Regions from separate parts of the Homo sapiens genome. Here regions 1 and 3 are each linked to region 2. Evidence: promoter capture Hi-C in 16 types of primary human blood cells and fetal thymus (Javierre and others, 2016). All regions are on one chromosome and are shown on one strand. Each heading gives the region's core, a stretch centred on a gene start or on the middle of the fragment in contact. The rest is flanking DNA. Distances are from core to core; before and after follow the strand shown.

What was found. The method cuts DNA at HindIII sites, captures the fragments that hold promoters and counts their contacts. A CHiCAGO score of 5 or more calls a contact.
Region 1: a fragment that was not itself captured here is called in contact with the fragment with the promoter of CAPRIN2 in region 2 in 1 of 17 cell types (naive CD8 T cells); the score reaches 5.1 in naive CD8 T cells.
Region 3: a contact is called between a fragment that was not itself captured here and the fragment with the promoter of CAPRIN2 in region 2, in 1 of 17 cell types (non-activated CD4 T cells). The highest score is 7.3, in non-activated CD4 T cells.

The regions. Positions count from the first base shown.
Region 1 is chr12:25,252,920-25,255,689 of GRCh38, reverse strand. No RefSeq gene overlaps it. Among named protein-coding and RNA genes, the nearest start is that of KRAS, 3.4 kb to the right of the region's middle. The HindIII fragment of the contact is 1,695 bases long and covers 622-2,316 here.
Region 2 is chr12:30,753,669-30,756,368 of GRCh38, reverse strand. CAPRIN2 (caprin family member 2) reads left to right here and starts at 1,418. Exons shown (of 19, transcript NM_001385503.1): 1 at 1,418-1,618. LOC645485 (a long non-coding RNA gene) reads right to left here and starts at 1,295. Exons shown (of 2, transcript NR_135046.1): 1 at 1,098-1,295. RefSeq lists silencers at 1-93, 1,185-1,864 and enhancers at 1,792-1,961, 1,965-2,044. The HindIII fragment of the contact is 2,894 bases long and covers 1-2,401 here.
Region 3 is chr12:25,050,425-25,053,124 of GRCh38, reverse strand. IRAG2 (inositol 1,4,5-triphosphate receptor associated 2) reads right to left here and starts at 419. Exons shown (of 22, transcript NM_001366544.2): 1 at 169-419. RefSeq lists enhancers at 545-914, 955-1,064. The HindIII fragment of the contact is 399 bases long and covers 1,076-1,474 here.

The sequences.
Region 1 (2,770 bases), core at 220-2,719, 5.5 Mb after region 2:
CAGACTTGGAAGCAAGATTAAGTCTCCGGGAAGGGGAGACTTAACTGGGACCAGAGATCATTTTCCCCTATAATTTTAAAGGTACTTATCATCTTTAGGTACTCATTAGGTACTTAGCTTGTAACTCTTTCCACTGTTCAAATATATACCCAGTATGCATGTAGCCTATATGGAGCAGGCACAGAGTAAATGTTTGATGATGATAAAAGACATGCGGAAGAAAGGTTAATTTGGCAACATCATAAAACTGAATTGAGACAAAGAAAGCCAGGAGGTAGGAAAGTCAATGAAGAAGTTATTCCAGAAATGTAGCTGAGAAGGAAGGAATACAGAAGAGGCAGATATGGGAAAATACTCAGGAAGTATAATTAAAAGGAGCTGTGACTAATTTTAATAAGGACTGGGTTAAAAATTAAGTTTTCATGTCTAAATGTTCTGGAGGACCATGATGTCACTCAGGTAAGATGGAGGAATTGAGAGAGGGAATTCGTTAGAGGGAATAACATGGGGAATTTGGCTTTGGACAGGCATTTGCCATGATAACAGAATATTCATTTAGAAATGGTCCAGGAAATTGGTTTGATGAGAATGAAGTGCCTGTGAAGAGAGAGGACTGAAGCTTGTTATAATTTCATTCACTTCAGGAATATTTACAGAGGACCCAAATGTGCTAAGAACTATGAAAACATAGAATTAAAAGAAATGGGCCTGGAATAATTTACAACCTAGTAAAGCAGTTATGGGAAAACATATTTGCAAAAAAGGTATACAAAGTATAATGAAATAAGTGTCCAGTAAGGATAAAGTGCAGAGTAAGTGAATTAAGCAGCACCCATTCATGTGTTCAAATTCCTGCCAGAGTCAAAAGGTTGTGCTGAAGTAGAGTCCATGAAAGCATCGTAGATGGCTCCTCCTGCTCAAGTTCCCCTGCTCTGCGTCCTGCTACTCTGGCCACAACCGTCTGGACCCAGGGTTGACACACAAACAAACACAATAATCTTTTAGCCAGACATAAAGAAGGCCAGCCACCAATCAGGAAAATTGTGTCCCATAAAGGCCCTTCCTATTGAACAGTGAATGACAGACATGGCCAGATCTTCTCTCTTGGAATGCTTTGAATGTTAGTCACAGAGAGTGACCACTAGAAGCACAGATAGCAGTAGAAGCTAAGACTACATGAAAAAGCAGTGGACAGATGGTGATTTATGAGAATGGCAAAATTACTAGAGTCATAGGCAATGGATACTTGTTAATGAAGGGATGAGCAGGGCCCCACAGCCTGTTGCTGGCTCACAAGTGCAGTTGATTGCTGGACTGAACAGCAGCTCTCCGCCTGATGATAGGGTTTTTTAAAGTGTCCTTATTGCCTTAAAGTAAATCCTCAGCATTTGCAGTGCTCTGAGGGTGTCCTAGCATTTTATACCTTTTTTCTAAGAGCCCAGGTAACATAAGGGTACTCCTGTTGTTCTGGCTTTAATTCTATCTGCAGAAGAGGGTTTCTTGTGAAAGAAAGGGTCAGTATGGTCTTTTATCTGTACAGCAGATAAAAAGGGTATGTACGTGCACACCTTTGTACGTGGCTGCCTTCCCAGGACAGTCTGACAGTAGAGGGTAGAAACTTCAGTTGTAGCTGAGAGCAGGCCTGGAATCCCCATGCTTATACTTTTTATTTCCTCCCCCCTTTCCCATTGTGATCACAGGCTACTTCAGTGTGCTTGTCCTTGGAGAGAGCAAGGGAAGGGAGAGCCAGGGAGACTGTTCAAGGGAGCCACCAGGCTCGAGAAAGAGGAACCCCTGAAGACAGTAGAAAGTGCAGGTGCCAAGAATTTGAATATCTACATCAGAGTTTCTCAATGTGCACACAGTGAACTACCAGTTTAGGATCATTTGATTTGCTAAAAATGAAGATTACTGGTCTACCTTAGACCAACTGAATAAAATATCTGGGTGAGGGGCCTAGGAACTTGCATTTTTGGTAGGCATGGCAGGTGATTCCTAAAGCATTTACCCTTGAGACCTCTATGTTAAGGAAAGAAAGGTAATGTTGCAAGGAGGTGGTGCCGGCTTCTAAGAAAGTACCCAGGACTGAACGGCAGAAAGACCTGACATACCATATGTATAAATTGCTGTGGAAGTGAAAAGGAAAGAGAAAGTGTCTGAGGTAAAACTGGAGTGTGGGGTGCGTGGAACAAATGGTTGGATGCAGATTTGCTTTACGAATCATGAGCCTAGATGATAACTGAGACCATGTGGATGGATTAGGTTTCTGCTAATGCCAGAATTTTTATAATCAGCATAAAAGTGCTATATAAAGCTTTCCCCTCTTCTATATTATAGTCCTTTTAAGATGTATGGAACATCAACTATAGGAAGAACATCATATTCACAGCTGTAAGAGGAAACAAGAACTTATCATGCACTTGATGTTGTACAAAATAAATCTGTGATTTATGCTTGAGTGACCACAAAGTAGCATACACATAAGCGCAAATTCATTCATTTAAGAATTCCTTGTGTCTATTATGTACGAGATAAGTATCTCTGAGCTGCACGGAATGTGGCTTATCAGAAGGTGACCTAAGTTTCAAAGCAGATTTTGTTAAGATGAAGACAGAGATTGACAGGAGGTTTAAGACACTCTGTCTAAAGTAAAGATTTAGAGTCACAGAGTTCATGGATTAGGATTTAGAATCCACAGAGGGTCCACAGATTCACTCATTCAACATTCCATAAATATTTATTGAATGCCTTTTTGTGTCAGAGACTGTCT
Region 2 (2,700 bases), core at 169-2,668:
GCCTGGCCTCGAACTCCCGACCTCAGGTGATCCACCCCGCCTCGGCCTCCCAAAGTGCTGGGATCACAGGCTTGAGCCACTGCGCCGGCAGGGGGCAAACATTTCATGATTAATCTGACTGAAATACCATTTTTAGGTTCATCATTAGCTCGGACTACAACTCAGGCTGTGCTGTAACTTTGTGTCAACTCATTGATCCAACAGTGTGTCCTTCACATTTTTTCTTATGGCCACTGTTTTTTGTGTTACCAAAGGTGAAGGCATAGCCTTCCTCTCCTCATGTTCAGCATCTTCTGCGTTTCTCTGTTTATAAACAATGAGAAAAAGGGAAAATCTAGTATTTCTCTGACCCTGAAGAACACATATGGGATTCAGAGATTCAAAGTTAAAATGCAACATTAGGGTACATTATGTCACCAGGGACCGAAAAGAACACGGATAATAGATGCCAAAAAAATGTATTAAGTAATGTTAAAATTAATTTGTGTGAAGTTGACCAAGGCTTTTAAAACTAGACCTTTGTTTCCTTGATTCTTCTTCTGAATTTTCTGTTCTTTTGCTAGTCTCAATATTTTTTATCAGAGCGTCAGGGACAATCAGGACCTAAAAAACTCCACTTGGTGTAATAAGTAAACACATGTTGGGGCAAAGTATTGCTGAGTGTGTGTGTGTGTTTCTTATTTGGTATCAGAAACACCTTCCTTTCCTCAATAAACTTTTACATATTTCCAGACTTTTCTCTTAATTTTATGTAACCTTACAAAGATTTTTTACAGCTTTCTCTGCGTGCCAGTCAATTAATGTGTGTCACATGAACAAATAATACGGCTTGAATAAACTCAATCCTATTATTGCAGGTTGCGAAGTCACCTACTCCGTTTTTATGGCGATGCTGATTTGGGGCATTCTGCTCTTACAGGCTGATTCCCCGGTAAGGAAACGGTGTTTTTTCCCCATCCTACTATGAAAGATGCTATCTGAGGGGCAAAGGCGCATCTGCATTTCACGACTACCCACTAGGCTACGACAGCCTCAAGCATGGCTTATCTGGTAGTTCCGCGAAGGGCTCGCTGCCCTCCTGGAGCTATTGGAGTCACCTGTTCAAGGTCGCGAAACCACCGGTGCCGCCGGCAATCAGCGAGGTCCAGCGGGGCTGCGCGGTTTCCGGCCTGCCGGCGTTCGGCGTCGCCTCGGCCCCACCTGGTGCCCCGCAATCTGCGCAAAGGCTGGGAGACCGCGCCCTCTCCCGACCTACCACCAGCCCAAGCTGGGCCCGGAACTAACACCCGACAAGCGCTGGCGGCCAGCTGCAGCCGGGAAGGAGCACCGGAAGGAGGCGGTGGCGGGGCGGCCGAGGGCGGAGCGGGCCGGGGCGGGGCGCGGCCTACAAAAGCCACGCGCGGCGCGGTGGGCGGGCCTGGGCGCGAGCGGCTGAGTCGGCTGGGTCTCTGGCGCCGCAGAGGCCGCGGGCGAGGACCGGGAGGGGAGAGGGAGGAGACAGGAGGAGGAGACGCGAGTGCGGGGTGGCGCCGGTCCACCTCCGCAGCGCTCCTGCCTCCCCCAGGCTTTGGAAGGCGGGCCCGGGCTGCGGCAGCGGCGGCCTCGGCTGCCTGGGGAGGTGAAGTCGGGCTGCGGCGGCCTCGGTCGGCGCGGCGGAGGGAGGCGGCTGACCCGGCGAGGGTGGGCAGGTCTGGGCGGCCGGCGCCGCTGCGAGGTGGAGGGGCGGCTTGGCATCCCCGGGGCGGGGCGGGGCTCCCGAGGGCCGCGGTCGGTGCGTTTTCCGCAGGTCAGCCTCCCCCGGGGCCTTGCAGAAGCGGCTTCTGCGTACCCGGGGCGGCTGTGGGAAGGGTGGGGGTCGGTGCCTGCAGGGCTCTCCGTGGCCGCTCGGGAGAGGTGCTCTTCGCTCAGGCTCCCCCGGAGACTTGAGGGGGTGCGCGCTGGCGTGCATGGGGCCTGTTCTGTCCTTGGTTTGGGGATGCTCCTAAGGGGGGAGAAAGGGATACCTCGGGTGCTTGGAGGTCGAGAGACGGATACGTAAGTGCGCAAGGGCCACTGATTAGGGCACGGGAAGGGCTCGCTAGAATGAGCTCTTAAACTGGTTGGGTGTAAGCGGTTTTGGGCTAGTCTAAACCAAACAACTGAGAATAAACGCGGGGTTCCTGCAGGTTGAGAGAGTACCTGTCTGCAAATGTCCAGTAGTGATGGATTGCCTTGTAGGCCCCAGAGCAATCGGGGAAGTTAGCATTCTTGTTCAAGAAGCTGCTGGTTCACTTAGAGCTATAAAAGAATGTTGTGAGTTTGGATTTTCTTCCAAACGTTCAGGATTGAGGTTAGGGCTGGTGGTGAGGGATCATGTAAAGAGGTTTGAGTGGCTCAGCCTTAGGTCCCGGTGTGGAAAGCTTATTCTTTTGGTGTCATCACGTGGCCATGGGAATTATTTAGAATGTGATCTGCCCTCATGAGAAGAAAGGAGCTCTGAAGCCGTTGCAGTTCTTCCTCCCTATGTGGAAAATCGAATTTCTGGAAACATCCTCCGTATTGGGAGATTTTGCCTATGTAAAGGCTATCCTTATTGGCTAGCGGCACTAATTACTTTAAAAGTAGGATGGAAGTACAAGTATCTCAAGCATCATTGGGTTTCGAGCTCACTTCTGTGGAAAAGAGTTTAAGGGAGTGGTCTAGACTTTCCAGGGAAGTTAT
Region 3 (2,700 bases), core at 26-2,525, 5.7 Mb after region 2:
CACTCAGCAAACCTCTCTGAAAGCCCCACAATATTGCCTTCTCAAACCATTTCATTGTCATAAACTCAGGAATAATATCCTAGCTGTAATCTAGAAAAATGTCTGTAGTCCTATGCCCCGCCTGAGGGTGGACAAAAACTGGGTCATAAATGAATATTTGCTACTCACTCTTCAGTTTCCTTGTCTTCTGCTGAAGTGCCTGGCAAGTGTTCGATAATTCAGTATTTATAGTTTGAAGGTTCCGTTGTTCCGAAATTGCTTCCTCTAATTTATGCAGTAAAGACGTAGCTTTTTCACTGGCAGTGTGGGCTTCTCGATCTCGATCCTTACCCTGGACATGGATAGTTAGTGCTGGATTGTAGCAGTGTGGCCAGGAAAGAAAGCAATGGAGTGCTCACTCTTATGATGCAGGCAAAACTGAAAATGTGTTTTTCTTCTCAGGGAAGTGATAAGCCTCTCCTGAACTTCTGCAATTCTGTGTTTGCATGGGCTTGGTATGCCTGAGCTATTTCTACAGCGGTTAAAGTCCTGATATGTCAAGTTGCCTCTTTCTGCAGAGTCGCCTCTTTCATCAGCAGGCTGTTGATACCGCCTCTCTTACAACTCCCCCTTTACTTCCTCTGCTCACTGTTAGTCGCTAGGGACTGAACTTGCAGTTCCTCTTTGCTTTTTTTTTTTGTTTGTTGTTGTTGTTCCTCCTCCATTTTTATTTCATGGTTTGCAGGGCATCTGAGGAGATGTCCCCTGAATCTAATGTAGCCATGAGCCACCCTACCTGCTCCTCCACATCCTCCAGCCGTTGGCTGGTTTCTTGGAGCCTCTTCCTAAGGATGCCTTCCTGGTTGACAGCATCTTCCTGTAGTTGTTTAATGGCTTCTAGTTGTTTCTGACTGGAGTTAAAAAAAAAAAAAAAAAAAAAAGTCCAAACCGCAAGCTGTCAGTGACATTTCAACTAAGAGTCACCCTGTGAAATTATGACAAACTCAAACTTAACACCACTTCCTTAGAGATCAGAGGAAAAAGTGAAAGTATTTACATATAAATGCTTCACAAATATAAAATCTTAAGCAAAGCTTATTGGTCGCTTAGCCTGACACCCTCACTTTACAGATAAGGACTTCTAGTTTCATCTTTTACACTGGTGTGTTCAGTTCCCACCAGCTGCATTCATAGCACTTAGCATCAGTTGCCAGTTGCCAGTTACTCAGAAGATGGCTCTACAATGAGGTCAGGGTGACAGGTGCAACATTTACACATCACAGCTAGCTTTTACAGAAAAAGAAAGGAATGGGGTAAAGGTAGGGGGAGGGAAAAGAAAAGGAAAGAGAGCTTTGTTTCATGACCTTAGCCTTTCTCCTTAAGGGTTGTCAATCATAGTATAAACACGTGCCACGAGCACAGGAAGGACCGCCCCCAGGCACAGATGAAAGCTGGCGGTTGATATTTCTACTTTAGTCCTCTTTTTGCTGAAGCTTTTCTCCCCATCACCCTTCCCCACCACAGATCTCATGGTGCCATTACGTTACACCTCATTTGGATCCAATTCTAATCTCTAAAACATGTAAAAATGCACTTACTCTCTGTTAGCAGATGAGATTATTTAATGTGTGTTACATGCCAGTACCTCAATGATTATCTGGAAACAATCTGACTTGAATATGGACCTTAACTCAAAGTGGTGATAAATGTCGGGAGTTGCAAAACAGCAAGGAAGACATTGTCAGCCGTAGGCCTTGTGCATGCCTCTCAAACGTTAACATTTAGTCAGAATGCCACTGCACACTGGCACAAATCCAGCCCTGGTTACACGAAGGACCACATGAGAGGCAAGAATGGTCTCACAGAATGCTTACCATACTGGTAAACAAGCAAACAAAATCCTAAGCAAAAATAAAAACTGCCTACATCACCACACTTTCCACTGAGCGTCCTTCAATAGCTTATCGTTGTCTCTCTCACTCTCTTTTTCTCTCTTTTTCTTTAACTGTGGCAGGAACATTTAACAGGAGATTTACCCACTTAACAAATTTTTAAGTGTACAATACAGTATTATTAACTACAGGCATAATGTTGTACAGCAGATCTCTAGAACATCTTCATCTTGCATAACTGAAACTTTATACCTATTGAGTAGCAACTCCTCATTTCCCCTCCCCTAGCTCCTGGCAACCACTATTCTCTCTCTTTCTATTAGTTTAACTATTTTAGATACCTCAGAGAAGTGGGATCGTGCAGTATTTGTTGTTCTGTGACTCACTTATTTTACTTGGGATAGTGTCCTCCAGGTTTATCTATGTTGTCATATGTGGCAGAATTTCCTTCTTTTTAAAGGTTGGATAATATTCCCTTGTATTTATATACCAAATTTTCTTTATCCAATCATCCGTGGACATTCAGGTTGTTTCCAAATCTTGGCTATTGAGAATAATGCCGCAGTGAATATGGGAATGCAAATAGCTCTTCCAGGTGCTGATTTTAATTATTTTGGATAAATACCCAGAAGTGGGGTTCCTAGATCAGATGGTAGTTTAATTTTTAATATTTTGAGAAAACTCTGTAACTGTTTTTTTTTGTTTGTTTGTTTGTTTGTTTTTTTTGAGACGGAGTCTCGCTCTGTCTCCAGGCTGGAGTGCACTGGCGCGATCTCAGCTCACTGCAACCTTTGGCTCCCGGGTTGAAGCGATTCCCCTGCCTCAGCCT